4 separate regions of the Homo sapiens genome follow, and regions 1, 2 and 4 are each linked to region 3. The links are contacts of gene promoters, found by promoter capture Hi-C in blood cells and fetal thymus (Javierre and others, 2016). All regions are on one chromosome and are shown on one strand. The core of a region is centred on a gene start or on the middle of the fragment in contact, and the rest is flanking DNA. Distances in the headings are between cores, read along the strand shown.

The links. The method cuts DNA at HindIII sites, captures the fragments that hold promoters and counts their contacts. A CHiCAGO score of 5 or more calls a contact.
Region 1: a contact is called between a fragment that was not itself captured here and the fragment with the promoter of CIT in region 3, in 2 of 17 cell types (M1 macrophages and M0 macrophages). The highest score is 6.6, in M1 macrophages.
Region 2: a fragment that was not itself captured here is called in contact with the fragment with the promoter of CIT in region 3 in 1 of 17 cell types (endothelial precursors); the score reaches 5.8 in endothelial precursors.
Region 4: a contact is called between a fragment that was not itself captured here and the fragment with the promoter of CIT in region 3, in 1 of 17 cell types (M2 macrophages). The highest score is 5.3, in M2 macrophages.

What each region holds. Positions count from the first base shown.
Region 1 is chr12:119,678,414-119,686,272 of GRCh38, reverse strand. It overlaps LOC124903033 (a long non-coding RNA gene), which reads left to right and starts at 787. Exons shown (of 2, transcript XR_007063485.1): 1 at 787-951. PRKAB1 (protein kinase AMP-activated non-catalytic subunit beta 1) reads right to left here. Exons shown (of 7, transcript NM_006253.5): 6 at 6,272-6,340; 7 at 4,654-6,025. The coding sequence ends at 5,948. CIT (citron rho-interacting serine/threonine kinase) reads left to right here. Exons shown (of 48, transcript NM_001206999.2): 48 at 1-482. RefSeq lists enhancers at 3,912-4,041, 4,212-4,271, 5,867-7,066. The HindIII fragment of the contact is 854 bases long and covers 2,866-3,719 here.
Region 2 is chr12:119,657,150-119,664,520 of GRCh38, reverse strand. All of the region lies in intron 1 of PRKAB1-AS1 (PRKAB1, TMEM233 and CCDC60 antisense RNA 1), which reads left to right. Among named protein-coding and RNA genes, the nearest start is that of PRKAB1-AS1, 7.3 kb to the left of the region's middle. The HindIII fragment of the contact is 1,101 bases long and covers 800-1,900 here.
Region 3 is chr12:119,873,408-119,881,251 of GRCh38, reverse strand. It overlaps CIT (citron rho-interacting serine/threonine kinase), which reads left to right and starts at 3,932. Exons shown (of 48, transcript NM_001206999.2): 1 at 3,932-4,003; 2 at 5,071-5,179. The coding sequence starts at 5,084. RefSeq lists a silencer at 4,173-4,252 and an enhancer at 4,483-4,542. The HindIII fragment of the contact is 6,661 bases long and covers 867-7,527 here.
Region 4 is chr12:119,699,059-119,706,449 of GRCh38, reverse strand. CIT (citron rho-interacting serine/threonine kinase) reads left to right here. Exons shown (of 48, transcript NM_001206999.2): 41 at 1,995-2,087; 42 at 4,492-4,600; 43 at 4,698-4,826; 44 at 5,625-5,705. Among named protein-coding and RNA genes, the nearest start is that of MIR1178, 11 kb to the left of the region's middle. The HindIII fragment of the contact is 172 bases long and covers 4,204-4,375 here.

The DNA of each region.
Region 1 (7,859 bases), core at 2,043-4,542, 190 kb after region 3:
ATCTCCATGAGAAATGGGCTTCTTGAGCCCTGAAAATGTATATTGTGTGTCTCATCTGTGAACTGCTTTCTGCTATATAGAACTAGCTCAAAAGACTGTACATATTTACAAGAAACTTTATATTCGTAAAAAAAAAAAGAGGAAATTGAATTGGTTTCTACTTTTTTATTGTAAAAGGTGCATTTTTCAACACTTACTTTTGGTTTCAATGGTGGTAGTTGTGGACAGCCATCTTCACTGGAGGGTGGGGAGCTCCGTGTGACCACCAAGATGCCAGCAGGATATACCGTAACACGAAATTGCTGTCAAAAGCTTATTAGCATCAATCAAGATTCTAGGTCTCCAAAAGTACAGGCTTTTTCTTCATTACCTTTTTTATTCAGAACGAGGAAGAGAACACAAGGAATGATTCAAGATCCACCTTGAGAGGAATGAACTTTGTTGTTGAACAATTAGTGAAATAAAGCAATGATCTAAACTAATGTGTGCTTTAGTGCAATGACCTCTTCTTTTTTTGAGAGACTGTGAAAGAAAAACTATCACCAGCGTGTCAGTGTAGGTGTATTATCATGGATGGGACCTTCTTTACGTTGTGGGGAGGGTTTTCCTCTGGAGTGGGATAGAGGAAGCCACGTGGTGGTTAGGGCACACTGCTATCCTGGAATTAAGCGATTGGTGACATTCTCTGCCAAGAGTTTGACTGTGGAAATTTGGTCAATACTTCCAGTGAACCATGAACTGGCTATTAAGGTCATTTTATAGGACTGCAGAGCTGGAAAGCTCTTCAAGCAGTCACACAGGACATTTGGAAAGGATTACTGAAGAATGGATTACCCAGTTCTATAATCAGCTAACCAGGAACAGGTCAGCTCAAGATATCTTTCATCTATTAAAAGGCCAACTACAATTTAATAATGTAGATTTCTTTGTAGAGAAGAATTCAAATCAAAGGTAATTAAAAATGAAAATACTTCCATTTTTAAGTAGAGGAACTTTTACAGTCTGCAAGATAAATTTTTTCTCATTCTTTAGTTTGTTAGTATAAACTTGCTCGATCCAGACAAACGGGTTTTGGCAAATGGTGATGTTTTTGTTTTCATGGTTCCTGTGGGTTGTAGTCTTTGAATTTTTATTTTCTAATGAAGTCGTCTGACCACGGTCAAAATTGGACTCGCAGAGTCGTATCTGTCTTTGTTGCTTGTGATGGGAACCACAGATGCAATTCTGTTCTTTTCGATGTTACTGTTGGGCATGAAAATCTGCCACAAGGTCGTAGTTGTAAGAATGAAAATAATTCAGAAGATGAAGTGGTGAAATGTGAACCTTTCTTTCCTTGTAGCATTAGAAAAACATCTGTTAAATATCAACCAAGCATTTCAGTGATTGTCTAGAGGATTGTGGGAGGTCACAGAAAACTTCCAAAGCTAAGTCAACATAGTTTGGTTTCAAAAGGAAGTGCCAAGGAAGAGTGTTTGAACCCTAAGGAATAGCCCGAAAGAAACAACCAACCAATTCCACAGCCACACCGTAAAATGAGGCCTAACTCTTCATGCTGGCCACTCCTGTTTCATAAGCACAAAATTAGATGTCATGTTTTCTGCGCTTACAACTTAATTGTCACCGGACTAAAGAGGTTGATTGCATAGCAAATTCCATAACCATGGAACTTTAGGATTTGGAGGGTTAGGCCAAAAGAGAATTTGCTTAATAGGACTGTCTTCAGAATTGGACCTCTTGAATGTGATTTGCTATAGAAAGCATTCGTGGGGGCCAGCTCAGATTCCATTCTCAGAATACAGTGGTTACACTGGCTTGTTCCACTGGTTCTAAGCCATGGGGAGATTTTGCTTCCCTCCTCCCAGAGGACATTTGACAATGTCTGGAGACATTTTTGGTTGTCACAACTCGGGAGTACTACTGGTATCCAATGGGTGGAGGTCAGAGATGCTGCTCAACATCCTACAAGGCAAAGGACAGCCCCCCACTGTAAAGCATTATCTGGCCCAAAGCCTCAATAGTGCCAAGGTTGAGAAACCGTGGTCTGTTCTAGTTTTAGTCCCATGTCTTCCTTGGCAATTTAAATACTGCTAATGATGTCTAAAGCATGTAGACCGTGGCTCTAGGCCTACAGTGTTAAATGAGAAAAATAGTTTCTTATTTGCCCACTCAAATGCTGAAGCTGTTTCCTGAAGCTGGGGAGGGTGGGGGTAGTGGAAATAGAGTCCAGTGTTGATCACTTTGTTTTCCCTTGAGTCTGTTAATGATGAACGGAACTCTATTTGCCCTAGAGAGATTGTTAGAGGTAGATGAAAGAACCTTGAAAATGACTTTATTACTCTGCATAAGTCAGGCTGTCTTTCAGAGAGCCACAAAAAAGGAAACAAAAAATCGACCAAGGGTATACACATCTTGGCCTGTTCTCACTGGCCACTGAGTATTTCAGATGGGATGGGTGAATTCTTTTAGGGGGAGGTAGCAGTAAGAGCTGGCATCCTCATCTGGGGAAAGGCTCTTTAGTTGTATGAAAGACAAGACGACAATGTAGTTGTGGGAGCCCACCCTGAGGGCAGAGCCTGGTGGCTCGTTCTAGAGCCAGTGGCTGGGGTCCCAGAGACGGGGCTCCGGCTGCTGCTCCAGCTTTTGGGATCTTCTCCAAATGTCTGACTCACTATAGTGACGATGACTCTTAGGAGGATCCTGTGGATGTTTTTACAATTAATAGGGATGACTGGGGTTTTAGAAGAAATGTATACGTATCTACAACTTCCATGTTTTCTCCTGAAGACAATTATAGTTGGCATACCAGGGCAGAAGGCTCTAGTTTGTTTCTCCACTAATTTGCTGGCCAAGATGAGTGCTGAAGCTTTTATTCCTCAGAAACTTTATGATTTGATGAGTGGTCCATGTCTTGGGTCTTCATCAATTCATTCAAACCATTTGTAAACATTGGTGGATGTCTTAGCCCATTTAGTGCTGCTTTAACAAAATACCTGAGAATGGGTAATTTATAAAGAACAAAAATTCATTCTCTCACAGTTCTGGAGGCTGGGAAGTCCAAGATTAAGGCATGGGCAGGTTTGCTTGTCTAGTGAGGGCTACTCTCTGCTTCCCAGATGGCGCCTTGTGCTTGGGTCCTCTGCAGGGGAGAAAAGCTGTGTGTCCTCACATGGCAGAAGGTGCCAGGGCACATGAGCTGAATGCTGCCTGAAGCCTCTTTGATAAGAACCTCAATTTCATTCATGAGAGGAGGGGCTCTCATGACCTAATCTCTTCTTAAAGGCCCTACCTCTTAATACTATCACATTGGGGACATTTGAATTTTGAAGGTGACACAATAGCAGAGGAGGATCAGATATGGGAAGTAAATGCTTGAAAGTGAAACTGTGCTCATACAAAAGGAACTGAATTAAAATGAAATTTTGTTCTTTCCTAGACTGGCTCGTTCAGTCTCTGACCTCAGCCACAGATCGTATCATGATGTTCCAGGTTTTTTCTCTCAGTCTTTTAGGAGCCTTGGAGATTTCCTAATTGAGCTAGCTGAGGTGCAGGCACAATTTTCTTGTCTGGCCTTTTGACTTCCTGTTTGTGGCCTTAGCCCTGCAATACTGATTTACATTTTAGTAATTTTTTAGGCTTTAATTTGGCTCTATAAATTCATCTGTATATCAGCTTCTAGAGGGAAAAATGTATCTTCATTGAAAAGCAATTTGAGTTAAGCTTTAACTAAGTCCTCACCCATAAAGGAAATGCTAATGAAGAAAGGATTACTTGGTCATAGGACACGATTTGACATATGGCTTTGCCCCTGTGATTTGGGCAAAACAAGGTCTCCTTTTCCACCTTTGTAAAATCACCATTAACCTTTAGCTTCTTGGGTATGGAGGCTTTCACTTGGTGGGCAGGCTTTCCGACTATAATGTGCTTTTTAAAGAAAATGAAATCCTTTGAATACGCACAGAGATGTGTTGTCTCTGACCATGTCCTCTTGTTTTGTGTCTCCTCCATCATCTCAGCAGTGACCTCACCTGGAAGTCCCCTGTGGCCCCAGGGCTTGGAGAACTCATGGGGTGACTGGCTCCAGTAAACCAGTCTTATTTTACATAGCATTTTCAGCTTGGGTTTTCTGCACCAGTGGGTAGAGCTCATTAGCATGCTTTTCTGCTAAATTTAAAATGTTTCCTGATACCTGAGAAGGCTTAAAGGAACACCCATAACCTTCCACCTTTTTGGAGGAGGGACACGGCCTCTTTTAGTGGATGAAAACAGCTCTGACTCCACAACGTCCTGCTCTCTCACACGCCAGGGTCACGATCCCAGGCTGTCCCACCGGGCTTGTTTAGGAGCAAAAGGAAACAAACCCTCTGGCCTGGGGACACCAACAACTGGCCGAAGCCAGGAGCCTCTGCTGTTACCCCTCTTCAGCTTCCCCTTGTGACTTGAGCTGTTCAGAGGGGCTCAGTTTTAGGGGTCCCTTAAGGTTCCAAACTGTGTGAATGGGTGTGAGTCACAGGACTGGTTCTCAGGCCTGGGCAGCTGGAGTAGCCCTGTCCGCTCAGAGCCACAAGAACGGTACTGAAACGCAACTCTCGAAGAGTTCCAGTCTCTTCTCCAAGGGACTGAATAAAATCAGAGCTCCTCCAGGCACATGTCCAATTATTTTTACAAAGTTTTATTGAAACTTGTCCATCAAGGTGACAGTAATTCACTGTTTTGAAAAGTCACAAAAAAGGGTACCCCCAAACTCAGGTATACCAAGTAAATACTGGAACCCAGGGAGCTCACTCCTCCCTCTCCCACCAGGAGCAAAGGGCATAACGGGAGCTTCCGCTGACTCACAGCAACCTGGGCTAGTGGGTACATCTGTGGCGACTCCCGGGAAACTGAGCTGCGTATAAAGAAGTCTGCTTTGGTCCAAAGGACATCTTCCTGACCCAGACTCAGAAGGCTGCTGTCAAGTTCTACATTCCTTTCAGAATAAGCAACAGCAACTGCTGCAGTCTTGCTAACTAGGGGCAGAGGTCCTGAGCAAGGTGCCACGGGACCTTGTAAAATCACGCTGTGTGATTTTATAGGGAAGAGGGCAGAGTGCCTCTCAAGTTTTCACGGTTAACACTGTCACCTATTATGACTGGAATAAAAAGCTGGACAACCTGCCAGCTAACTGGTCAGTCCTGAGGATCATCCAGCTGAATGGAGAAATCCGGCAGCAGGTTGAAAAGTCTGTTCTGAGAACAGATTATTGCTGAGCAGAGTTCATGTGACTTCTAGACGTGGTGACTTAAAAAATGGCCTTAAGGCTGCAGAGCCAGCCACCTCTGCTTACAAAAAGAGTACTTAGTGCACATGACTGTAAGAAACAATTGTAAAACCTCATCTAGAAATCAGAAAGCTTCTAATTTCTATAGAAATGACACCTCCCTGGAGCCGAGAGACAATCTGTTGTTGATTTTGAAGGACAGGCAAGACCAACACTGTATTTAGTTCCATAGCCAGGCCTCAACAGGGACAAGTGGCTGGCCTTAAAAACACACAGATGACTGGAAATGATGTGTGGCCTCAGTCCCTGTTTCCCAGAATTTTACTGGCAAAGGAGTTAGCATTCATTTTTGGCTTAAGAAAAATCGAGAATGTAGGTTTAGAACTGCACCCAGCCTCATGCACCGCGGGGCCAGGGCTGCAGATCCTCTGCCACCCCTCCCTCTTTTCTTGGACTTGATGAGTCCCCGAGGCTCAAAGCCATGGGGGTGCTAGGAGGACTGTCACAGACCGAGGCGCTGCAGGAGCTGCTCTGCCTGGACAAACCTTCAAGCAGGACCAGGGCAGGTATGAAATGTCTTCTGAAGAGTGTGAAATGAGCAATGTACAGTCCATTCCCTCTTGGGGAAAGCATGCACGTGTGGAGCCTGGTGGTGTGCTGTCTCCTGGGCCACCATCCGCCCCCAGCTCTTCATATGGGCTTGTATAACAAGGTGGTGACGTACTTCTTCTTGTACCGGTGGGTTGCGCTGAGCACCATCACTCCATCCTAAGGAACAAGGTGGAAATGATCAAAGGCTGGACTAAGGGGCTCAAGCCTCAGAGGACATGAGAATCATTAAGGGCTTCATAAAACCACAAATTCCCGGGCCAGCTTCAGAACCTGAGCCTGATGGCCTGTGCCAGACCCTGGAAGCTGCCCTTTAAGTCAGTCCCGCCAGGTCATTCCACTGCTGGGGGTCCTCAGAGCACACACTGGGCAACACAGCTCTCATGGGGACAGACATGTCATTACCTTGATAGACAGCGCGTATAGGTGGTTCAGCATGACGTGATTGGGCTCAGGAAGCAAAGCTGGATCACACTGTGAGGGAACAAAGGCAGCGGTGAGCATTTGGGATTTGGAAACCAAGATTCTCCCCTTTACTTCCCAGTGCCAGATATCAAAGGACAGGAGGCAGCGCTCAGGCCGACCTCTCTTCCCAAATCAGGCAGCGCAAGGGCTTGTCCAAGACGACAGGTGAGATGAAGGTCACGCCTTCTGACCTGAAGGGAGCTCCCTGCATGCCTGCTGGAGGCATCGGTGTGTGTCTCTGGCCAGGCATTTACCCCGGCCTCTTTCAAGTGTGGGCCACGGCCCTGTCCTCTTATGGAGGGTGGGGCAGGAAGAAAGCAGCTATTAACAGCACTTTCAGAGAACACAGGAAGAGACCATCTGCACTAAACGCTCCTGAGCAATGGATTCAAAACTTGTATCTGTAAGACTCAATGAACCTGAAGAATGAAACGGATACCTGGGCAAGACACCACTACTCTGGAAAATCTGCCACCGGGCTGGCACTCAGAGCTGCCCGCCGCACCTTCCTATGTTTTAAGAGAAGCCAGAAATCGGGATTTATTTTTTCATTGTATACCCCCAACTGTTATAAATGCAATTCAAATGGAAAAAAGTGTAGAACAACTGCTGTAGGCTTAGGATCCCAGAGGCTGGGCCAATCATTGTGTCAACAAATACTCAGCAAGCTCCCGCTGGGAGGCCATTCAGGGTGGCTGCTGAGAGCACCAACTACCAAGGATCTGGCACCAGCCAAGCCTGATGTGACTGCTGGCTCAGCCAGTTGCTGTGTGAGCCTAAGAGGGGTTTTTAAAAAATTAATCAATTTCAAAGATTGACAGATAAAATTATGTATATTTACCATGTACAATATGTTGTTTTGAAATATGGACACATTGTGGAATGGCTAAATCAAGCTCATCAACACACGCAGAACATGCTTACCATGTTTTTGTGGTGAGAACACTTAAAAGCTACTTTTAGTGCACTGCTGATGGGCATGTAAATTAGTACAACCATTATGGAAAATGGCATGAAGGTTCCTAAAAAGTTATAACTAAAATTACCACATGGTCTAGCAATCCCACTACAGGGTAGATACTCCAAGGAAATGAAATCAGCATGTCGAGATATCTGTACTCCCACGTTCACTGCAGCTCTATTCATAATAGCCAAGACGTGGAATCAACGTAGGTGTCCACAATGGATGAATGGATAAAGAAATGAGGTACTGATACACAATGCAGTGCTGCTGAGCCTTACAAAAGGAATCTTGTCATCTGTGACAGCATGGATAAACCTGGAGGACATTAAGTGAAATGAGCCAGGCACAGAAAGACAAATCCCATGTGATGTCACTTATGTGGAATCCAAGAAAGTCGAACTCACAGAAGTAGAGAGTAGAGTGGTGGTTGCCAGCGGCTAGGAGTGGTGGGGGTAGGGAGATGCTGGTCAAAGAATACAACATTTCAGTTAGACAGGAGGAATACGTTCAAGAGATCCACTGTACAACACGGTGACTATTAGTAACAATGTATTCTTGAAAATC
Region 2 (7,371 bases), core at 101-2,600, 210 kb after region 3:
TCCCACTCCCAATTTTATAATGTTTGGAGGTGGGGCCTTCAAGGGGTAATTAGGGTTAGATGAGCTCATGAGAGTGGGGCCCCCATGATGAGATCAGGGTACTTATGGGAAGAAGAGACGCTGGAGAGCTTGCTCGCATGCTGTCTATTCACGCCCATGCTCAATGGAAAGGCCATGTGATGACAAAGCAAGAAGGCGGCCATCTGCAACTCAGGGAAAGAGCCCTCACCACACATCAACCATCCTGGCACCCTGATTGTATTAGGCCATTCTTGTATTGCTATAAAGAAATATTTGAGGTTGAGTAAGTTATAAAGAAAAGAGGTTTACTTGGCTTATGGTTCTGTAGGCTGTACAGCAAGCATGGCTCTGGGTATCTGCTTGCTTCTGGTGAGGCCTCAGGAAGCCAAGGGGGAGCCGATGTATTGATGTATCACATGGCAAGAGTGGGAGTAAGAAAAAAAGTGGGAGGAGGTGCCGCACGCTTTTAAACAACCAGATCTTGTGAGGGCAGCACCAAGACGATGGTGCTACACTATTCATGAGAAGTCCACCTCCATGATGCAGTCACCTCCCACCATGTTGGAGGCCTCACCTCCAACATGGGATTACATTTCAGTGTAAGATTTAGGGGGAAAAGTATCCAAATTATATCACTGATATTAGACTTCCAGCTTTCGGACCTGGGAGAAGTAAATCTCTGTTGTTTAAGCCACCCAGTTGATGATTTGTTATAGCAGTCTGAGCTGACTAAGACAGACTCAAATGTGTGTGGGCTGCTAGGATAGAATTACAAGCTTACTTTTAGGGCTTAACCAGATTTCCACCAGGCCTTCTGAATTTTGCCTAGCCAATGTAAGTAACACTGCCAATGTTTGAGAAACTTGTCCATCTTTTCTTGCTAGACATTCTTGTGTTCTCTTTGCACTGAGATGTGAATATTGTGACAGAGAGTCATCAACATAGAATTAAAAGAAGTTCATTCTACAGCATTTGGTCTACAACCTTAATTGGCAAATAGCCTCATTTTGTGACTTTTAGGTTGTCTGAGAAAATTCTGTTTCTTGACCTGGGTTGGTAATTATTAACATGTTTGCCTTGTAGTAACTTACTAAGCCATACATTTCTTTTGTGTAGTTTCCTGTATCTTTATTTTATTTTCAATAAAGTTTTTTTTAAATAAATAGCTTCACTCACAGGGTAAGCTGAAACCTAGAAGGGAGAAGTGCCCAGTTCAAGGTAACACAATGTTCTTAATAAAGTTCACCTCAAGTCTATCCTCTTTTTTTTTTTTTTTGAGATGGAGTTTCACTCTTTTCACTCAGGCTGGAGTGCAGTGGTGCAATGTCGGCTCACTGCAACCTCCGTCTCCCGGGTTCAAGCGATTCTTCTGCCTCAGCCTCCCAAGTAGCTGGGACCACAGGCGCACCCCACCACGCCTGGCTACTTTTTGTATTTTTAGTAGAGACGGGGTTTCACCATGTTGGCCAGGCTGGTCTCAAACTCCTGACCTCAGGTGATCCACCCTCCTCGGCCTCCCAAAGTGCTGGGATTACAGGTGTGAGCCACTGCACCTGGCATCTCTATCCTCTTTTAAGAGCTTTGAAGGAATGGAGGAGAAAAGGATGTACACTTTCTACCCCTTTTCTAGAGGACAAGTGACAAACTAAAGCAGTATCCAGGCAAAGATCCAACGGAGGTGAAAACAATGAGAGGAAGTCTGTCTCTGTCTCATCTCTTTAAAATGTAAGCTCCCAGGGATTTGAATATCAAAGTTTCATAATCACTTTAACATATGCTGTTGGGACCATCATACCCCATCTGCATGTGCCCTTCTGCGCATGCCCCAAACTTCCTAACTGTGAGCAGGTGCAACTCTGAGGGCCTTCTGGAGAAAGCTTTGTCGACACAAGTGGGAACCCAAGGGGACCAGAGAAGACACCCTGAGAGAAGCCCTCAGCCAACCACAGAGGAGCCAGTTCCCTTGCCCCTTGGATGTGCTAACTCTAATGAAGCAGCGTCATTTTTCTGGGGTAACACCCGAGGTTCGATGTCTCATGCTAAGGAAATTGAAGACATGGCCATGCAAGGAGTGGGTTTAAGAGTGGAAAGTTAAATAGATGAAAGAAGGAAGAGAGCTTCCTCATGCAGAAGAAGGGGTCCTGAGTGGGTTTCCCTGGTTTGGGGCAAGGTGTGGTTGGTTTTAGGGATGAGCGTGAGGAGATGGTATATGATTTACATGGGGTGTAGTGGATTGGTTGGACCAGATGTGCCATTTTCATAGCCCGTGAAGAGGCTGGTCATCCCACTCTAATCTTTTATTATGCAAATGGAATTTTAAAAAACCTGGCTGGTGCCATGTTATCTGCACACGTGGCAACAAAGAAAAGGGAAGAGGGAACCTCCATGTTGAATATACCTGGTTTCCAGCTATCTGTTTTCTATTGGCACAGCTGCTGGTATTTACCTATGCAAGCCTCTAGCTTGCTTATCTATGCTTGCAGCTTGATTTTTCAGGCTGCTTTTTGTTAAAAAAAGAAATGATTTGGAGACTGCGTTTTTATTAAAAGAAAAACCTTACTGAGGACTCTCTTACCCTCACTAACTGTCTAAATAATTTCTTTTTAGCTCTCGTATAACTAAGATATATTCCCTACCGTGTCTCAGAGGTCCCCAGTGGAAATGCACCCTAGATGTCCACAGCAGTAATTGGATCAAGGAATTCATTGATTATCTTCCTTTCCTTTTCTTTATCTCTTTTTAGGAGCACCTTCCAAATAAATACTCAGAAACACCTCCCAAGACACACTAATTGCATGAAAATCCTAGTTCAACCACATAGGTTACAGATGAGGAGGGACAATAGCTTGCTGAATTATAGAAAAAGTTAGTGGTCATAGATCATAATTTGGATCTTATGTCTTGGTTTCTGGTCCAGGGTACTGTGAGATTATCATTCTTCTTGATATGATGAACCATGGAGACTTTTAAAAAACAGGGATCGGCAGCATTATCATAATAGACAGAAGGTGGAAAGAATCCAAATGTCCACCAAGAGATGAGTTTGTAGGCTGGCACAGTGGCTCATACCTGTAATCCTAGCACTTTGGGAGGCCGAGGTGGGTAGATCAACTTGGGGCCAGGAGTTCGAGACCGGCCTGGCTAACATGGTGAAACTCCATCTGTACTAAAAATACAAAAAATTAGCTGGTTGTAGTGGCGCACACCTGTAATCCCAGTTTATTGGGAGGCTGAGGCATGAGACTTGCTTCAGCCTGGGAGGCGAAGGTTGCAGTGAGCTGAGATTGTGCCACTGCACCCCAGCCTGGGCGACAGAGAAAGACTCTGTAACAACAATAACAAAATGAATTATAAACAAATTGTGGTATGTTCATACAGTGGAATATTCTTCTATCACAAAAAGGAATAAAGTACTGTTACATGTTACAATGTGGATGACCTCAAAAATATTAACATTATGCTAAGTGAAATAAGCCAGACACAAAAGGTCATATATTATATGATTCCATTTATATGAAATATACAGAATAGATATATCCATGTCAATAGAAAGCAGACTGGTGGTGACCACGGGCTTGGCGGAAGAGGGAATGAGGGCTTTCTTTTGGAATGATGAAAATGTTTTAAGACTTGGCATAGATGGTGGTTCCACAACATTGTCAATGTACTAAATGCCTATGAATTGTTCACTTAAAAATGTCTACTTTAAAATTAACATTTATGTTGTATGAATTTTACCTCAAAGAAAATAGGGTTAGTCCTAGAACAAATGGTAGAGGTGTACAGTTTATCTTTTTTCCAATTTATTTTCTGCAACTGTCTTACAAAATAAACCTCTCCGCACCCTGTCCTTCCCTGTAAGTGTCTCATGACTCATGTCATCTAGCCCATCAGAACCTAACTAGTTCATGGCACTTGTTCTAGTTAATATTGATTTTTTCAGAGGCCTTCAGTTTTCTAATTGCATTAATTCATTTCTTTATCAATAACTTTTTCATGGCAAAAACTCCTATCCACCGGGCACTGTGGTAGACACTGGGGAGAGAATTGTGGGCAAAATCAAACCCAGGCTCTGTCCTGAGTGTTTACGATCTAGTAGGGAAGAGAGAAATTAATCGAACAATCATCCAACAGTCTTCTGTGACAAACGCTAAGAAGGAGAAGTGTGACCTAGTGAGAAGGATGTGACCAAGTCCTGAGGTCAGAGGAGGCTTGCTGAAGGAAGTGACAATCAAGTTGAGATTTGGAGATTGTAGGTGTTAAAGTGAAAGTTGTTTATCAATCCTTATTATGCACTCGGCATTGTGTTTGATGTATGAACTCATGTAATGCCACCAACAGTCCTTTGAGGGATCTACTATTATTACCACTTGCATTTTTCAGGAGAAAATGAGGCTCAGAGAGATGAAGTGACTTATTCGAGGTCACACAACTAGAAAGTCATGAAACCAGCATTCAAATGCAGGCAACCAGACAGATGTCAACATTTTAGCCACCACGGACAGATCATTGAGTGAGGGATGAAATCATTTTGGGTGGGCCAATGGATTGGGCTGATCTAGATTATAAGTATAAAGCTGGAATGGTCATTCAGAGAGGGAGAACAAACTAGGTGTTCAATTGTTTTAATATCTATTAAATTTTCTAGGCTAGATGCAGTGGCTCTCAGCAGCTTGGGAGGCCGAGGCGGGAGGATAGCTTGAGTCCGGGAGTTTAAGACCAGCCTGAGCAAGCTGTCGAGACCCCATCTTTATTATATTTTAAAAAATAAAAATTAAAAAAATAAAAAATTTTCTAACTACGAATCCATGTTTGTTTTTTCTTTTCTTTTTTTTCAAAAGAGCATCAATTTCCCAACCATGTTTCTTATTGTTACAAAACTCAATAAAAATCTGAAAGTTGGAAGCCATGACTTGCTGGGTGTAACGTACTAATCAAGAAGGTGGAATCAATTATTAAATAGTCAATAGGGTTAACAGCAATGAGTGATCATGGCAGGCAATGCCCCTAGCATCCCCTAGGTGGCAATAAAGAGCAACAAAGATTATTCCTATGGCCTTTCAAAAAATTAAATGTATGTATTTTAAAGTATGGATGAACATGGTTAAAAACTTCAAGCAGTATGGGAGGGGGTACAGAATCAAAAACAAAAGTCTCCCTTACACCTTCTCCTACATCATTAATTCCTTTCCCCTCAAATAACTTGTTGAGAGTTTCTTGTATACTTTTTGGGGGTATATTTTGTTACAATTATTATAATTATAATTTCCTATAATTATAACTATAGAAAAAGTACTTACATCGCTCTTCTTTAAAAATGCAAGCAATTAGTACTTTTTTTCCTTAGCATATCTTTCCATATCAGCATATACAGCTCCACCTCATTTTAAAATTTTAATTAAAAAAATTTTTAAGTAAAAAAAAAATTTCTTAAAAGAGACAGGGTCTTGCTATGCTGCCAGGCTGGAGTGCAGAGGCTAGTCACAGGTGCAATCATGGCTCACTGCAGCCTCAAAGTCCTGGGCTCAAGTGATCCTCCTGCCTCAGCCTCCTGAGTAGCTGGGACTACAGTTGTGTGTCACCATGTCCCGCCACCTCAGTTTTGTAATGACTGCAGATTTCATAACAAGAAGAGGTCTATGTATAGAGTGCTTACTGTACACCTGCCACTGTCCTAAGCACTTTCCTTGCTTTAAGCCATGTACTTCTTATAAAGCTTTAAGAGGTGCATTTTGTTATTATCCCCACTTTACATAAGAAAAAACTAAGGCACAAGTGGAGAAGTAACTTGTCCAATGGCACAAAGCTAGTAAGTGGTGAAGCCAGGATTTAGATACAGGAAATTTAATTCTTGAGTCTATGCTCTTAGCCACCATGCAAAACTACTGCTGCACAGATGTACTATATTGCAGTGGTCCCCAGTGTTTTCGGCACCAGGGACAGGTTTCGTGAAAGACAATTTTTCCATGGACTAGGGTTGGGGGGATGGTTTTGGGATGATTCAAGCACATTATATTTATTGCGTACTTTTCTATTATTATTGCATTGTAATATATAATGAAATAATTACACAGCTCCCCATTATGTAGAAACAGCGGGAGCCCTGAGCTTGTTTTCCTGCAGCTAGATGCTTCCATCTAGGGGTGATGGGAGACAGTGACAGATTATCAGGCATTAGATTCTCATAAGGAGCATGCAACCTAGATCCCTCGCATACGCAGTTCACAATACAGTTTGTGCTCCTGTGAGAATCTAATGCCACCACTGATCTGACAGGAGGCAGAGCTCAGGCAGTAATGTGAGCGATGGGGAGCAGCTGTAAATACAGATGAAGCCTTACTTGCTCACCTACTGCTCACCTCCTGCTGTGCGGCCTGGTTCCTAACGTACCATGGTACTGGTCCGTGGCCTGGCGGTTGGGGACTGCTGCCTTAAGGTACTGAATCTATCATTTCCTTAATGTATTTTTTAAAATGTTGTAGGATATACTGTTCTAGAATGTACCTGGGACTTTGGGTTTATTCATGTATGGTAAGGCCAATGGATCGGAAGACCATTGCCATTAAAAATATAGTTTTATTGCTCACAGTTCCTGATATGCTTTGGCTGTGTCCCCACACAAATCTCATCTTGAAGTGTAGGTCCCATAATTCCCACGTGTCGTGGGAGGAATTTGGCGGGGGCGGTCATTGAATCATGGAGCCGATTACCTCTATGCTCTTCTCCTGATAGTGAGTGAGTTCTTATGAGATCTGATGGTTTTATAAGGGGCTTTTCCCCCTTTGCTTGGCACTTCTCTCTCCTGCCTCCTTGTGAAGAAGGATTTGTTTGCTTCTCCTTCTGCCATGATTGTGTTTCCTGGGGCTTCCCAGCCATGGGGAACTGTGAGTCAATTAAACCCCTTTTCTTTATAAATTACCTAGTATCAGGTATTTCTTCACAGCAGTGTGAGAACAGTCTAATACAGTTCCCAAGGGGCAGGAGCCCGCCATGCCATGCAGAACCACAGGAGAGAACTTTGAGGTTGGTCACAGCCAGAGAGGATGAGAAGAAAGCCTAGGAAAAAGCCTTTATTGTGGTTTTTGCCAGGAGGAATGGGCGAGGCAAGGTAAGCAGCTGAACAGGCTTAGGATTGGATAGTCTGAATAATTCAGGCCAGCTGTGGGCTATAGGTGTCGTACCTAACTGTCTGACACCCAACCCTGGGATGATTAGGGCTTAGGATTGGATAGTTTGAATAATTCAGGCCAGCTGTGGGCTATAGGGGGTTGGGGGGGGTAGTCTCTAAATGTCTGACACCTGACCCTGGGATGATTAGGGCTTAGGATTGGATAGTTTGAATAATTCAGG
Region 3 (7,844 bases), core at 2,683-5,182:
GGTTCATGACATTGGCTGCACATTGGGGTCACTTGGTGTATTAGTCTGTTTTCACACTGCTGATAAGGACATACCTGAGACTGGGCATTTACAAAAGGAAGAGGTTTAATGGACTTGCAGTTCCACATGGCTGGGGAAGCCTCACAATCATGGCAGAGGGCAAGGAGGAGCAACTCACATCTTATGTGGATGGTGGCAGACAAGAGAAGAGGGCTTGTGCAGAGAATCTCCCCCTTATAAAACCATCAGATCTCATAAGACTTATTCTCTATCATGAGAACACCACAGGAAAGACCTGCCACCATGATTCAATTACCTCCCACCAGGTCCCTCCCACAACACGTGGGAATTCAAGATGAGATTTGGGTGGGGCCACAGCCAAACCATATCACTTGGGGAGCTTGATCAACTTCCAATTCCTAGGCTTGATCCTGGAACAGTGAAATGAGGATCTCCAAGGATGGGGCCCAGGTATCAATGTTATTTTAAAGCTTCCCAGGTGATCTCAGTGTGAATGCAAGGTTGTGAACCACTGCTTCTGGAATACCTGCACCATGAGAAGGTATAATAAATGGTGTGTGTAGAATCAGAAGGCAATTCATTTGTAAATTCAGTACACTTCTATTGAGAGCCTGCAAAGTTGATTGTTGGTAGGCTGGAAAGAAGTAATTAAATTGTAATCAAATGCACATGGAGTTAGATTTCATCATTTAGTCCACAAATATTTATAAATATTATGTGCTAGGTGCTGGGATAAACATAAGTCAATACAGTTTGGTGGTTATCAAAATGGGCTTTAGAATGAAAGAACCAACTGATGTCCTGGCTCCACTGTTTACTAGTATGTGACTTAATTTCTCTAAGCTTGAATTTCTCTGCTGGTAAAATGGGGTTGCTAACAATAATGCCTACTTCAGAGGCTTGCTTAAGAATTATGTCAAATGATGCAGTGTTTCCCAAATTTCAAGATTTGTTCTAAAGCTATACCCATGTACAACCTGTACTACTGTTTACTTAATATTTCCTTTACTGGCTCATTTTTTCTTCTTAAATATTTCCTTTGGTCTCACTCCAAGTGGTATCATCTATAAAATACTTGGTTGGATGGGCTAGCTATAGTTTTTCTAACATATAGTAAAATATATAATTTAACAAATAAGTGACTTTTTTTGCCACTTGAAAGTGTTGCTCATACCAGTTGTGGGGACACATCTTTGGGAAACAGGGAATATCTGGGATATTTGCCTCTGAGCCAGCGTGAGAGTGGCTCCTTTCCATAGGGGTGGATGCTAATAATAGTGCCTACTTCAGGGGCTATTGAAGGCTTGCACCTAGAAACCTAGAAAGCACTCAGCCAATGATAATTATTCTTTTTTTTTTTTACCGAGTCTCACTGTCTCACCCAGGCTGGAGTGCAGTGGCAAGTGAGATCTCAGCTCACTGCAACCTCCGCCTCCCAGGTTCGAGTGATTCTCCTGCTTTACCCTCCTGAGTAGCTGGGATTACAGGCACCTGCCACCTCGCCAGGCTAATTTGTATTTTTAGTAGAGATGGGGTTTTACCACATTGGCCAGTCTGGTCTCAAATTTCTGACCTCAAGTGATCCACCAATCTTGGCCTCCCAAAGTGTTGGGATTACAGGCATGAGCCATTGGGTCTGGCCAGTTATTTTCTTTATATAGAAGTTTCTGGGCTGGGCGCAGTTGCTCACACCTGTAATCCCAGCACTTTGGGAGGTCGGGGCAGGATGATTGCTTGAGTACAGGAATTTGAGATCAGCTTGGGTAGCATAGGGAGACCCCATCTCTACAAAAAAAAAAACCCAAAAAAACAAAAAAACAGCCAGGCATGGTGGTACATTCTTGTGGTCCCAGCTACTGGAAGGGCTGAGGTGGGATGATCACTTGAGCCTGGAGAGGTGGAAGCTGCAGTAAGCCGTGATTGTGCCACTGAACTCCAGCTTGGGTGACGGAGTGAGATTCTGTCTAAGAAAAAAGAAAAAAAAAGAGGTGCTTGATAAATAGTAGCTATCCATTATTGGCCCCGGGAACAAGAAGTAAGTTATGTTTGGGGAAGGAAAAAAGAACAAATGTGTATTAAGCAAGCCTGTAGCTCTAATTATGTGCTGGTGTGCGTGTGTGTGTGTGTGTGTGTGAGAGAGAGAACACATCTCCAGTTCTGTCTACTGTAGAATTAGGAGAGTACAAAAAGGACTTTACATATATAAATAGAACATACACACACACACATGCGTGCACACATATACACACAATTTAATCATTATGAAACCACATCCATATTGTTGCTACCTAGGTTAAGAAATAGATCACAGCAGCACCCCAACACCCTGAAAGGCCTCCATCCCAACCCCAGGTAACTACTATTCTGGCTGTTGCTTTCTTTATGGTTTTGTCATTACTTTAAACAATGACAAAAACTGCAATGATTTGCATCAACCTAATACATCCCTCCTTAAACAATGTTGCTTTGTTTTGTCCTGTTTTGGAACTTATAAGAATGGAATCATAATGGAATCATATGTTATTTTCTTGCTTCCTTCATTAGGCCTTGTTTTGAGACTCATTATGTCATTGTGGTTAGTTGCAGTTTATTCTTTTTCATTGCTTGTGAAAACACTGCAATATACAATTTTGTCTTTTCTACTGCTGATGGACATTTATATCACTTCCAGTTTTTTGCGAACACTATTTTGTATTCTTATACACATCTCTTGGTGTACATAAGTAGGAGTTTCTCGCCGGCGTGGTGGCTCAGGGCCTGTAATCTCAGCACTTTGGGAGGCCGAGGTGGGCAGATCACTCGAGGTCAGGAGTTCAAGACCAGCCTGGACAACACGGTGAAACCCCATCTCTACTAAAAATACAAACAATTGGGCATGGTGGCATGCACCTGTAATCCCAGTTACTTGGGAGGATGAGACAAGAGAATAGCTTGAACCTGGGAGGTGGAGGTTGCAGTGAGGCGAGATCGTGCCATTGCACTCCAGCCTGGGAGACAGAGCAAGACTCCATCTCAAAATAAATAAATAAATAGGAGTTTTTCTTAGGTAGAGAAACTACACCTAGCAATAGTCATAGAATGCACAAATCTTCAATGTTAGCAAATAATGCCAAACTTTTTTTTCAAATTTCAAAGAGATTGTATCCATTTACACGCCTACGGGTACTGTATAAGTGTGTGTACTTCCACATCTTCGCAAACACTGTCACATCCTTTTGTTGTTGTTGTTCTCGAATTTGAGTGTTATTCTTTCTCACTGTGACTTTATTTTTCATATTTTCTGATTATGAACGAGGTTGACAACTTTCACACATTTGTTGGTCATCTGGATTTCCTTTTTGGTGAAGTGCCTGTTTAAGTATCTCGTCTATAATTTATTTTAAAGTGTCCTTTCAGACAGTCTCAATGACTGTCACCAACTCCTTGCAGGGCAGTCAGCCCGGAGATAGAGTAATCAAGGTAGGTTGAAGTCAAGCTCAAAACATTCGCTGCCTCAGCTGTAGCAGAGGACCACTGGGCTTCCCCAGGTAACAAGTACTTCTACCTTAGCCACATGAGAGAGAAAGAAGACCAGGCAGAGCAGCCTGGCTGCCTTCCTCCTTGCAGGTGGCCGAGAGCAGGGGACAGCGCCCTGGCGACCTCCTCAGGGATCCTAGATTAACAGTCGCGTCCTCAAACGCAGCATCCTGCGTAACCGCCAATTTCAAACTTCCAAGACCTGCCCTGCTGATTTTGCCCTTCCCTTTTTCCCGTTGGTCGCGAGTCAAAGGAAGATGCAATTTGATTGGCTCTCCCCTTCACTTTCCTCCATGCCTTTAGGGACATGGGCGGGGCCTGGCTGAGACGCCCATGTCTATCATAGGAGCGGAGACGCTGATTGGTCCAAACACGGCTGAGACCCGCCCGCGCCGTTCCTCGGGTTCAAACGCGGCGGCGGGAGGCGCGGGGCGGAACAGATCGCAGACCTGGGGGTTCGCAGAGCGTGAGTCTGATCCCCCAGACCCAATTCTACCGCACCCGGCTCTGCAAGGCCAGGGGAGGGCCGCCTCCACCCATACAAGTCCCGGGTTTCCCTCCCGCCCCGGGGAGGGCGGCGATTCCACCCCCAGGGCTGCGGGAGGCCTGGAGGGTCTTCCGGGGCTAGCTGTGCGCGCGCCCACCTTCCTTGGGAGCCGAGGGGTCAGCCGAGTGGTGCTGGGGCAGGAGGCTTGCTCCTCCCCTAAACCAGGCGGAGTGCTTTGTCTCTTCAGCTCTGCCTCCTGTCAGCACTAACTGCATTATTCTGCCCAGTGTAGTCGGCCGGTTCCTTATTATCTGCGTGAACTTAGCCATTTACTTAACCTCTCTGTTTCAGCGTATTCATACCCCGTGCCCACCCCATCACCTCATGATGCCCCCGCCTCTTTCGCTCTGCTCCAGTCCGTCTGGCCTCGCTGTTGCTGGAGAGGCCAGGTCCTGCCTCAGTGCTTTTGGCTTGGCTGTTTCGTTTGCCACGGATGTCTTTCTTTCCCCAGATATCAACATGGCTTGCTGGTCATTCGCTTCAGGTCTTCAAGTCTTGGGTCAAATGGTGGCTTCTCAGTGAAGTCTTATTTGACCACACTAAAAATTGCACCATCTCACCCCCATTGTCCTTTTCTTGCTCGATTTTGTTTTTACCCCATAGCACTTAACACCTTACAACAAGCTATATATTTTGCTTATTTCAGTCATTCATTTAATAACTATTCGCACCTATTTGTGTGCCAGGCTATGTGTGCCCCCACTGCATGGGGGCAAACATCTCTGCCCTTGTGGAGCTTCCATTCTAAGGGGGGAGATAATAAACACATTTATAAGTAAGAGAGTATGTCAGATAAGTGTATCATCTCCTGTCACAGTGAGTTAAAATCTGGTGTTTAATCTCCATGATTAGACTGAGCTTCCTAAAACTGGAGTGGTAGCTGATTTTCACCTCCTTGTCCCTGATATCTTGAGGGAGATCAGGATCTCTCAGGCCCTTCCTGCTCAAAACATAGGACACACTTGACTTTTCTGATATCCTTTCAGCGCCAGTGGGGAGATGTTGAAGTTCAAATATGGAGCGCGGAATCCTTTGGATGCTGGTGCTGCTGAACCCATTGCCAGCCGGGCCTCCAGGCTGAATCTGTTCTTCCAGGTAACAGCCTACCCTGCCAACTTTGCTCACCTGTGTGTGTCCTTGGAATCTCCTTGTCACTCACCTTTGCTTTTATTTATTTGTTTATTTATTTAGAGTCTCAGTCTCTCAGGCTGGAGTACAGTGGTGCAATCTCAGCTCACTGCAACCTCCGCCTCCTGGGTTCAAGCGATTCTCCTGCCTCAGCCTCCAGAGTAGCTGGGACTACAGCCGCCTGCCACCACACCCGGCTAAATTTTGTATTTTTCTTTTTAGTAGAGACGGGGTTTCACCATGTTGGCCAGGCTAGGGTCGAACTCCTGACCTCAAGTGATCCACCTGCCTTGGCCTCCTAAAGTGCTGGGATTACAGGCATGAACCGTGCCCAGCTTGCTTTTATTATAGGACCAGGGATAATATTTTAGGGGAAATTCTGTTTTGTTTTGTTTGAAACAAGGTCTTCTGTCGACTCTAGGCCTGTGCCACCATGCCTGGCTAATTTTTTAATTTTTTGTAGGGATGGGGTCTCACTGTGTTGCCCAGGCTGATATAGAACACCTGACTTCAAGTGAGCCTCTTGCCTTGGCCTCCCAAAGCACTGGGGTTATAGGTGTGAGCCACTGCACCTGGCCCTCTATTTAGAGTTTTATATGCACTGATTCTTTTGGAAAAAAGACACTGTGCAGAAGTAGATAGCTGAACTTGCCTTAGAAGGGAGATCTTTTCATATTTCTCACACTTTACACTTCTGTACTAAAGTTTATTCATTCATTGATTGATTGGTTGCTTGCAAGACAGGGTCTTGCTCTGTGGCTCAGGCTGGAGTGCATTGGCACAATCACGGCTTACTGCAGCCTTGACCTCCTGGGCTCAAACGATCCTCCCACTTCAGCTTCCTGAGTAGCTGGGACCACAGGTGTGTGCCACCATACCTGGCTAATTTTTGTATTTTTTGTAGAGATGAGGTTTCACCATGTTGCCCAGGCAGGTCTCGAATTCCTGGGCTCAAGTGATCTACTTGTCACAGCTTCTGCAAGTGTTGGGCTTACAGGCATAAGCCCCTGTACCAGGGCAAGTTTGTCCTTTTATTGAAGAAAGAAAAATAAATGAACAAAGATGCTTTTTAAAACTACAATTTCTGTGGGTATAATCCTATTCATTTTCATTGCAGGGATGTTTATTTTTTAAGATTTTTTTTTTTTTTTTTTGAGACAGAGTCTTCGCTGTCGCCCAGGCTGGAGTGCAGTGGCGCGATCTCGGCTCACTGCAGGCTCTGCCCCCCGGGGTTCACGCCATTCTCCTGCCTCAGCCTCCCACGTAGCTGGGACTACAGGCGCCCGTCACCTCGCCCGGCTAATTTTTTGTATTTTTAGTAGAGACGGGGTTTCACTGTGTTAGTCAGGATGGTATTTTTTAAGATTTTAAAAAAAGTTTTGATGAATACCACACCTGTTTAACCCTCATTCCTCTCAAGATACACATTTCTGTCACCCCAGATGCGTTAAAACTTAATATCATAAGATTACTTCCAAATAGATTTTTAATTCTTTTGTTTCTGATGTATGTGGAACACTGGTGAAGTAGAAATCCTTGTTTGATTTATGTATTCGTAAGTCAGGGGGACAATAGAGACCATGAAGATTTAGAATTGAATCCCAGTCCCAGCACTAGTTAGCTGCATTACTTTGGGTGAGTCAGTTACCTTTTCTGAGTCCATTTGCTATTCTTTAAAATAGGTTGTAGCCTGTAATGCCAGTATTTTCGGAGGCTGAGGCGGGCGGATTACTTGAGGTCACGGGTTCGAGACCAGCCTGGACAACGTGGTGAAACCCTGTCTCTACTAAAAATATAGAAAATTAGCTGGGCATGGTGGTCGCATGTACCTGTAATCCCAGCTACTTGAAAAGCTGAAGCAGGAGAATCATTTGAACCCGGGAGGCGGAGGTTGTCGTGAGCCGAGATGGTGCACTGCACTCCAGCCTGGGCGACAGAGTGGGTAAGACTCCATCTCAAAACAAAACAAAACAAAAGAAAACAAAAAAAATAACATAGAGGTTGTAGTACCTAATCCACAGGGTTGTTGTGAGGATTAGATGAGATATTCGATTTAAAGCACTTAGCACCTTGCCTGGCTCTTAGTAAACTCCTTATAAAAAATGGTAATTATTGTTAATACTCAGCATAGAATAGTATTAGTTATAATATTAATACTAAATTTGTTTCCTTAATAGTAATTATATTTGGGAAGGTAGTTATGTAGGATACCTGTAAGATGATGAATGATGAAGTATTCTTGATAACTTTTTTTTTTTTCCAAAATATTGGTATTGGGTGTTTAAACAGATGAGAGTGGAAACAAATTGAAAGCTTAGGTTTTTCTGTGGGACCATCCCCATCAGCATTTTAAGTCTTGACATATCTTTCACAAATGAATAGTCTGTCTTTAACCTTAGATGGCTGGAGTGCTGCCACGTTTCAGCCCCTTTATCATGCTACTTTAAAATATCTCCAACTTGCTGGGCGTGGTGGCTCACGCCTGTAATCCTAGCAATTTGGGAGGCTGAGGTGGGTGGATTGCTTGAGGTCAGGAGTTCGAGAGCAGCCCGGGCAACATGGTGAGCCCCTCCGTTTCTACTAAAAACACAAAAAATAGCTGACTGTGATGGTGTGTGCCTGTAGTCCCAGC
Region 4 (7,391 bases), core at 3,040-5,539, 180 kb after region 3:
GGTGGAGGGTGGGAGGAGGGAGGGGATCGGGAAAAATAACTAATGGATACTAGGCTTAATACGCAGGTGATGAAATAACCTGTACAACAAACCCCCATGACATGAGTTTATTGATACAACAAACCTGCACATGTGCCTGTGAACTTAAAAGTTAAAGTAGAAAATAATAAAAAAGAGTGTTTGCGGGTATATATACATGTACATGTATAACTTTAATTAAGTCTGAATCAGGTGTTTATAGACCCCCTGAGGCTACTGGCGTTCTGCTGTTGAAAACCATCGCATTTTGACCCTCAGAAGAGAGCACACTGCACATTTGTTCATTCAGCCGCTCAATCAACATTTTTTTTTTTTTTTTTTGACACAGAGTCTTGCTCTGTCACCCAGGCTGGAGCACAGCGGCACGATCTTGGCTCACTGTAGCCTCTGCCTCCCGGCTTTAAGCGATTCTCCCTCTTCAGCCTCCCAAGTAGCTGGGACTACAGGCACGCACCATCACAGCAGGCCAATTTTTGTATTTTTAGTAGAGACAGGGTTTGACCATGTTGGCCAGGCTAGTCTCGAACTCCTGGCCTCAAGTGATCCACCCACCTTGGCCTCCCAAAGTGCTGGGATTACAGGCATGAGCCACTGCACCTGGCCAAAATTTTTTTTTTTTTTTTTTTTTTTTTTTTTTTTGAGACAGAGTCTCACTCTGTCACCCAGGCTGGAATGCAGTGGTGTGATCTTGGCTCACTGCAGCCTCTGCCTCCCAGGTTCAAGTGATTCTTCTGCCTCAGCCTCCTGAGTAACTGGGATTACAGGCATGCCCACCATGCCCAGCTAATAAAAATTAGTTTTTTAAATTAGAAATTATTTTCATTCTAATATCTGAACTGTTCAAAAAATGTATGGAACATATATGTAAATCATAAAGCCTAATAATGTCGTAAGCATCCACACACTCACTACCCAGTCCAAGAAATAGAACATTGCTAACAATTTCCCTTTTCTTGTGTGTTCCTCCCTTATCCCGGCCCATCTTCATTCTCCCACTGTACCAGCTGCTGACCTTCGTGCCAGGACTAATTTGAGCAGTAAGCCTCATTTGGTGAATGATAAACATCTGGTTGTAGCAGGAGACGTTAAAAGGGTTTCAGCTGTTCTAGAAAAAGAGCGTTTTGATGTAGAACTCTGCACGTGTATGAGTTCTTAGCTAAGAACTTTTCCTTTTGGATTGAAATTTTCTCTAAATGTGGGCCGGGTGTGGTGGTTCACACTTGTAATCCCAGCACTTTGGGAGGCCGAGGCAGGCGGATCACTTGAGGCCAGGAGTTCGAGACCAGCCTGGCCAACATGGCAAAACCCCATCTGTACTTAAAATACAAAAATTGGCCAGGCATGGTGGTGCGCACCTGTGGTCCCAGCTACTTGGGAGGCTGAGGTGGGAGAATGGCTTGAAGCCGGGAGGTGGAGGCTGCAGTGAGCCGAGATCATGCCACTGCACTCCAGCCTGGGCGACAGAGTGAGACTCCGTCTCAGAAGAAAAGAAATTTTCTCTAAATTCGTTTAGCAGTCTCTACCACCTTTCCTCTCCCTTCCCTCATTCTGTCTTCTCCCTCCTCACAAGGGAAGTTTGTCAAAAGATTCTGTCTCCAGCAGAAGGCACATGTGTGGGAAAGGTGTGTGGTGTCAGGTGCCTCCCTGAGGCCTTCTCTGGATCCCAGGTAAAGCCTTGGTTCTCGACCAGGGGTAATTCTGCCTTACCAGGGGACATTTGGTAATGGCTGGAGACATTTTTGATTGTCACACATTGAAGTGCTGCAGGCATCTAGTGGGTCAAGGCCAGGGATACTGCTCATATCCTGCGATGCCCAGGACAGCCCTCCCCCCACCACACAGAATGATCTGGTCTGAATCATCAATGGCGCTGAGCCTGAGAGCTTTTCCTAGTTTTGCCCCACAGCCGGTATCACACTGGTGACAGTCTTTTTCTTTTCTTGGTTGCTTTTCAGATTGAGAACGGGCTCTGCATCTGTGCAGCCATGCCCAGCAAAGTCGTCATTCTCCGCTACAACGAAAACCTCAGCAAATACTGCATCCGGAAAGTAAGTCCTGGGCCTTGCCTTGGTTGAACGTGGGAAAGCCAGTCCTGCTCTCTCAGCGAGCCAGTGTGGAAAGTGCACTGTCCTGGGACACAGCCTGTACTGGGTTCCTTCTACCCTGCGGGCCTTTAGCCTGGGGTGACCTCTGTCGTCAGCGAGATCCTTCCTTTGTGGAGGATTCCCCAGGGCCACTAGTAGCTGCGGTTTCCCTCCTGCTTTTCTTCTCACATTTGCGAACTGCCTCCCCATCCAGCCCAGTGAGTTCAGCCTTTTGTTAGAACAGAAAGTTGACTGATAGGAAAAACCAGTGGAAAAAAAAAAGGGGGGGCTCTTTCTAAGATCCTAGCAGTCCCAGGTAGCACTTATCAGAATCTTTCTCAAATTCTAGAGGTGTCTATTAATATAACCTTCTGCAATAACCAGTGCTAGCAGTATTTTGATATGTAATTAGGGAGCTCCTTCTTTTCGGAGCAGAGTGAGCTGTGATGATGACTGCAATATGGACGAGATGTGTGTTAGATCCTTAAATCTGCCTGGCTTCTGGAGAATGCTGTCTGATGTCCCTACCTCGGAGTGTCCCACTCCTCCTAAGCCTGATATATTTCTGGTGCTTTCATGATTAGTCTCAAAAATGAAATGAGGCTGGGCATGTTGGCTCAGGCCTATAATCCCAGCACTTTGGGAGGCCGAGGAGGGTGGATCACTTGAGGTCAGGAGTTTGAGACCAGCCTGGCCAACATGGTGAAACCCTGTCTCTACTAAAAATACAAAAATTAGCCGGGCATGGTGGCGGGTGCTTGTTATCTCAGCTACGTGGGAGGCAGAGGCAGGAGAATTGCATAAACGTGGGAGGTGGAAGTTGCAGTGAACCGAGATTGCACTACCGCATTCCAGCCTGGGCAACAGAGCAAGACTCCATCTCAAAAAAAAAAAAAAAAAAAAAAGTGAAATGAAGGGTGAATAATATATAAGGGTCATTACCTGTTAGAGAAACTGTTCCATTCTGGGCAGGGTGGTGTTAGTTTAGTTGGTGTGTTCATTGGGTGCCCACCCTGTAAGGGACTGAACTGGCTGTTTTACAAGCACCTTTCACCACAGTTCTGAAAAGCAGAGACAGTTATTCCCAATTTTCAGGTAAGACAACTGAGGCTGGCAGAAAATCCTCAGTTACAAAGTTGAGGCCAGAACTGAAGTTTGATTTTTTTTCCTAGCATTTCACTATATCGTGCTTCCTCAAAGTTTTCCCATACTTAGTAGGTGACCAAGAAATATTCAGTGATGATGATAATGCTCACTAGAATTTGAACTGTTAGCTTCAGGAAAATTCTCAGAAATCATTGCTTCTTTATGATTCCCGGCCACACATTTTGAATAGGTGTGCCTGGTTTTTTGATGACATTAGGATTGGCCTAAAAACAACTAAAAATAATCAGGAAGCAGGTAATTAAGATGACAATAATGATGATCATGATGATGACTGCATAGGTAATATAGGTTCAAACTAGAAACTTAGAAGCTAGCAAAAAGAAGGAAACCAAAACCATTGCTGCTGACCACCACTGTTAATAGTTGTTGTATTTTTCCTGTATTTTTTTTTCCTGTGATAAGAATGTTGTATTGTTCAAGATCTGTCTCTTCATTGGAATGCTGTTTCTTTCTTTTCTTTCTTTTTTTTTTTGAGACAGAGTTTTGCTCTTGTCGCCCAGGCTGTAGTGCAATGGCACTATCTCAGCCCACTGCAACCTCTGCCTCCCGGGTTTGAGCGATTCTCCTGCCTCAGCCTCCTGAGTAACTGGGATCACAGGTGCACACCACCACACCTGGCTAATTTTTTGTATTTTTAGTAGAGACGGGGTTTCACCATGTTGGCTACACTGGTCTCGAACTCCTGACCTCAGGTGATCCACCTGCCTCAGCCTCCCAAAGTGCTGGGATTACAGATGTAAGCTACTGCGCCCAGCCTGGAATGGTGTTTCTGACCCCACCTTTTTTTGGCTGCAGTTTGACCTTGTTTTCTTAGTTTTGGGTTGCATGGAACAATAGGAAGAGAAAACAAATGGATCACTGTTCATCCTGAGAGGCATGAAAGGTGAATGGGGCGTGTGCAGTGGCTCAAGCTTGTAATTCTAATGCTTTGGGAGGCTGAGGTGGGAGGATTGCTTGAGCCCAGCAGTTTGAGGCTGCAGTGAGCTATGATCACACCACTGCACTCTAACCTAGGTGACAGAGCGAGATCTTGTCTCCAAAAAAAAAAAAAGATGAATGGCTCTCTATGACAACGTGAACAAGCTTGGTGACAATGTTCTCCAGGGCTTGGCTAGATGCTGTAGGCAGAAGCAGAACAGCTGTGGACCTTGGCTGCCCTGTGTTACCTCTCACATCCTTCTCTTCTGCTCTCATGTCTCAGGAGATAGAGACCTCAGAGCCCTGCAGCTGTATCCACTTCACCAATTACAGTATCCTCATTGGAACCAATAAATTCTACGAAATCGACATGAAGCAGTACACGCTCGAGGGTAGGACCCACCTCCACTTTCGCACCCACCCATGGCTCAGGCCGCGCTGAGACTCAGAACTCACTCCTGAAGCCCCGCTTCTCGCCTGCCTTTACAGAATTCCTGGATAAGAATGACCATTCCTTGGCACCTGCTGTGTTTGCCGCCTCTTCCAACAGCTTCCCTGTCTCAATCGTGCAGGTGAACAGCGCAGGGCAGCGAGAGGAGTACTTGCTGTGTTTCCACGGTGAGTCGTGGCTGCGCCCACTGCCCTTTTGGGTCCTCATGGACACTAGGGACCCATGAGGGGTTGGAGGAGGGTACATGGAGCTCTGGGGCAGGATAGGTTTGACTAGGGGTACAGAGAATGTCCTTCCAGCACCACCAAGTCCCCTTGGGGATGCTCCTCTCCATCACCAGATACTAGCGTGGTCTAACTTTATCACATTCTCTCCAAAGAGCAGGCAGTTTTTTCCTCATCCATCCCTTGCCTTTCTTTCTCTCCCTTTCCTTTCTCTTACTCTGTCCTCATTTCGTCCTCCCCTCCCTTCCCCTCCCTTTCCATCCTTCTATCTGTCCTTTTCTTTGTTGCATTCTTTCTTTTCTTTCTTTCTTGGGTCCTCCCCTCCCCCTCCCCATCCCCTCCCTCCCCTCCCCCTCCCCATCCCCTCCCTCCCCTCCCCCTTCCCTTCTTTCCTGAGTCTTTCCGTCTTTCCCTGTCTGTCCTCCTTCCTCCGGATCGCTTCATTCCCCTCTCTCTCTGTCTCTTTCTCTTTCCCTCTCCTCCTCTTATTCCTTTCCTTCTTTTCACTTGAGTTCTCTTTCTTTAATAAAATTTAATAAATTAAAATAAATTAAATTTAAAAAGTCCCTCATTTTTAATAAAGCTGAGAGCTGGCTCAGCAGAGGGCCTCTGGTTTTCACAGTCAGTCCCATCTGGCCAGGGGTCCCTGGGCTCTGCTCCTCATTCTTCCATCACCATGTGTGTCGCTGATGCCCCTGCTCTTGGCTGTGCTAATGCCCACGTGCTCTTGACACCTTGCAGAATTTGGAGTGTTCGTGGATTCTTACGGAAGACGTAGCCGCACAGACGATCTCAAGTGGAGTCGCTTACCTTTGGCCTTTGGTACGTGAGGCTCAGTGTGGGGGCTTCTCTTTTGCCAGCAGCTGGTGTCCTGGAAAAGAATTGCATCCGGGTGCGGTGGCTCACGCCTGTAATCCCAACACTTTGGGAGGCCGAGGCGGGTGGATCATGAGGTCAGGAGTTTGAGCCCAGCCTGACCAACATGGCGAAACCCCATTTCTACTAAAAATACAAAAATTAGCCAGGCATGGTGGCATGTGCCTGTAGTCCCAGCTACTCAGGAAGCTGAGGCAGGAGAATTGCTTGAACCCAGGAGGCGGAGGTTGCAGTGAGCTGAGATCACACCACTGCACTCCAGCCTGGGTGACAAAGCGAGACTCTGTCTCAAAAAAACAACAAAAAAAACCGCAATTGCAAGTGGAAATTTTTTTCTTTTTTGGCCTAAGCACTGTGCATGTGAATTCCATTAGATACCAAGTGCCATGTGTAACAGTCACCCGGAGAACTGTTCATGGAAAGATTCTGAGGCTCGATGAAGAGCTGCCTACGCCAGATTCACCAGCCCACAGTCCCAGCCCTGGGAAATATTTGCTAGGCTCTCATGATAGAAAGGAGCCCAATTCCTGTAGATTTATTTCAGTCATTTCCAAAGGCTGCAGAGTGTCCCATGGCATAGCTGAACACCTGTTCACTTAACCAGTTCTAATTAGGCAAAGCAGTAAGGCCATGCCCGTTTTGTTTGTAAGTGTAAACAACACTACGATGAACATCCTTGTACTAATCTTTTTGCACTTGTTAGATAGCACCCCCTGATTATAAGCTCCTAAAAGTGGAACTGTTGGATCAAAGACTAAACACACATACACATACAAGTATGTACATACGTATCTGTGTGAATGTTCTGAAATGCCGTCGTGGCCCAGATACCCTTCGAGGCTATTTTGTTTCTCTCTTGCTGCATAACAAGCCATCTGAAAGCTTAGTGACTTCAAACAACAGCTTATTATTGGCCCCAACTCCGTGGCTTGACTGGACAGTTCTGCTTCATGTGGTATCAGCAGGGCCACTGGGACAACTAGAAAGCCCAAGACAGGCTCACAAACATGGCACGCAATGAGTGCTGGCCATAATGTGGGCGCTTAGCTGCGGCTGGTGGCTGGAGGCCTTGTTGCTTTCCACGCTGGCTTCTTCCAAGAATATAGAAGCGGAAGCTGGCAAGCGTGCTCACTTCCACCACGCTCTACTGGTTAGAGCAGACCGCAGAGTCAGCCCAGATTCAAGGCCAGGGAACTGCACCGGGGCACGCATACCAGAGCCCATGACTTTAAAAGTCTAATACCAAGTCTTGCCACAAGGAATAATAGTGCTTTTTCCCTTTAAGGCAGAAAATATTTCCAGTCCTGTGTGCTCTAGTTTCAGTGACACTGTCATGCAGAGATAGAGTATTAAGAAGACCAGCAATGTCTAAATAGCTGTGAACCCAGTCTTTTTTTTAAAATAGAACCCAGTCTTTTTTTTTTTTTTTTTTTTGAGTCGGATTTTCACTCTTGTTGCCCAGGCTGTAGGGCAATGGCACAATCTCAGCTCACTGCAACCTCTACCTCCCGGGTTCAAGTGATTCTCCTGCCTCAGCCTCCCAAGTAGCTGGGATTACAGGCGCCTGTCACCATACCCGGCTAATTTTTTCTATGTTTAGTAGAGACAGGGTTTCACCATGTTGGCCAGGCT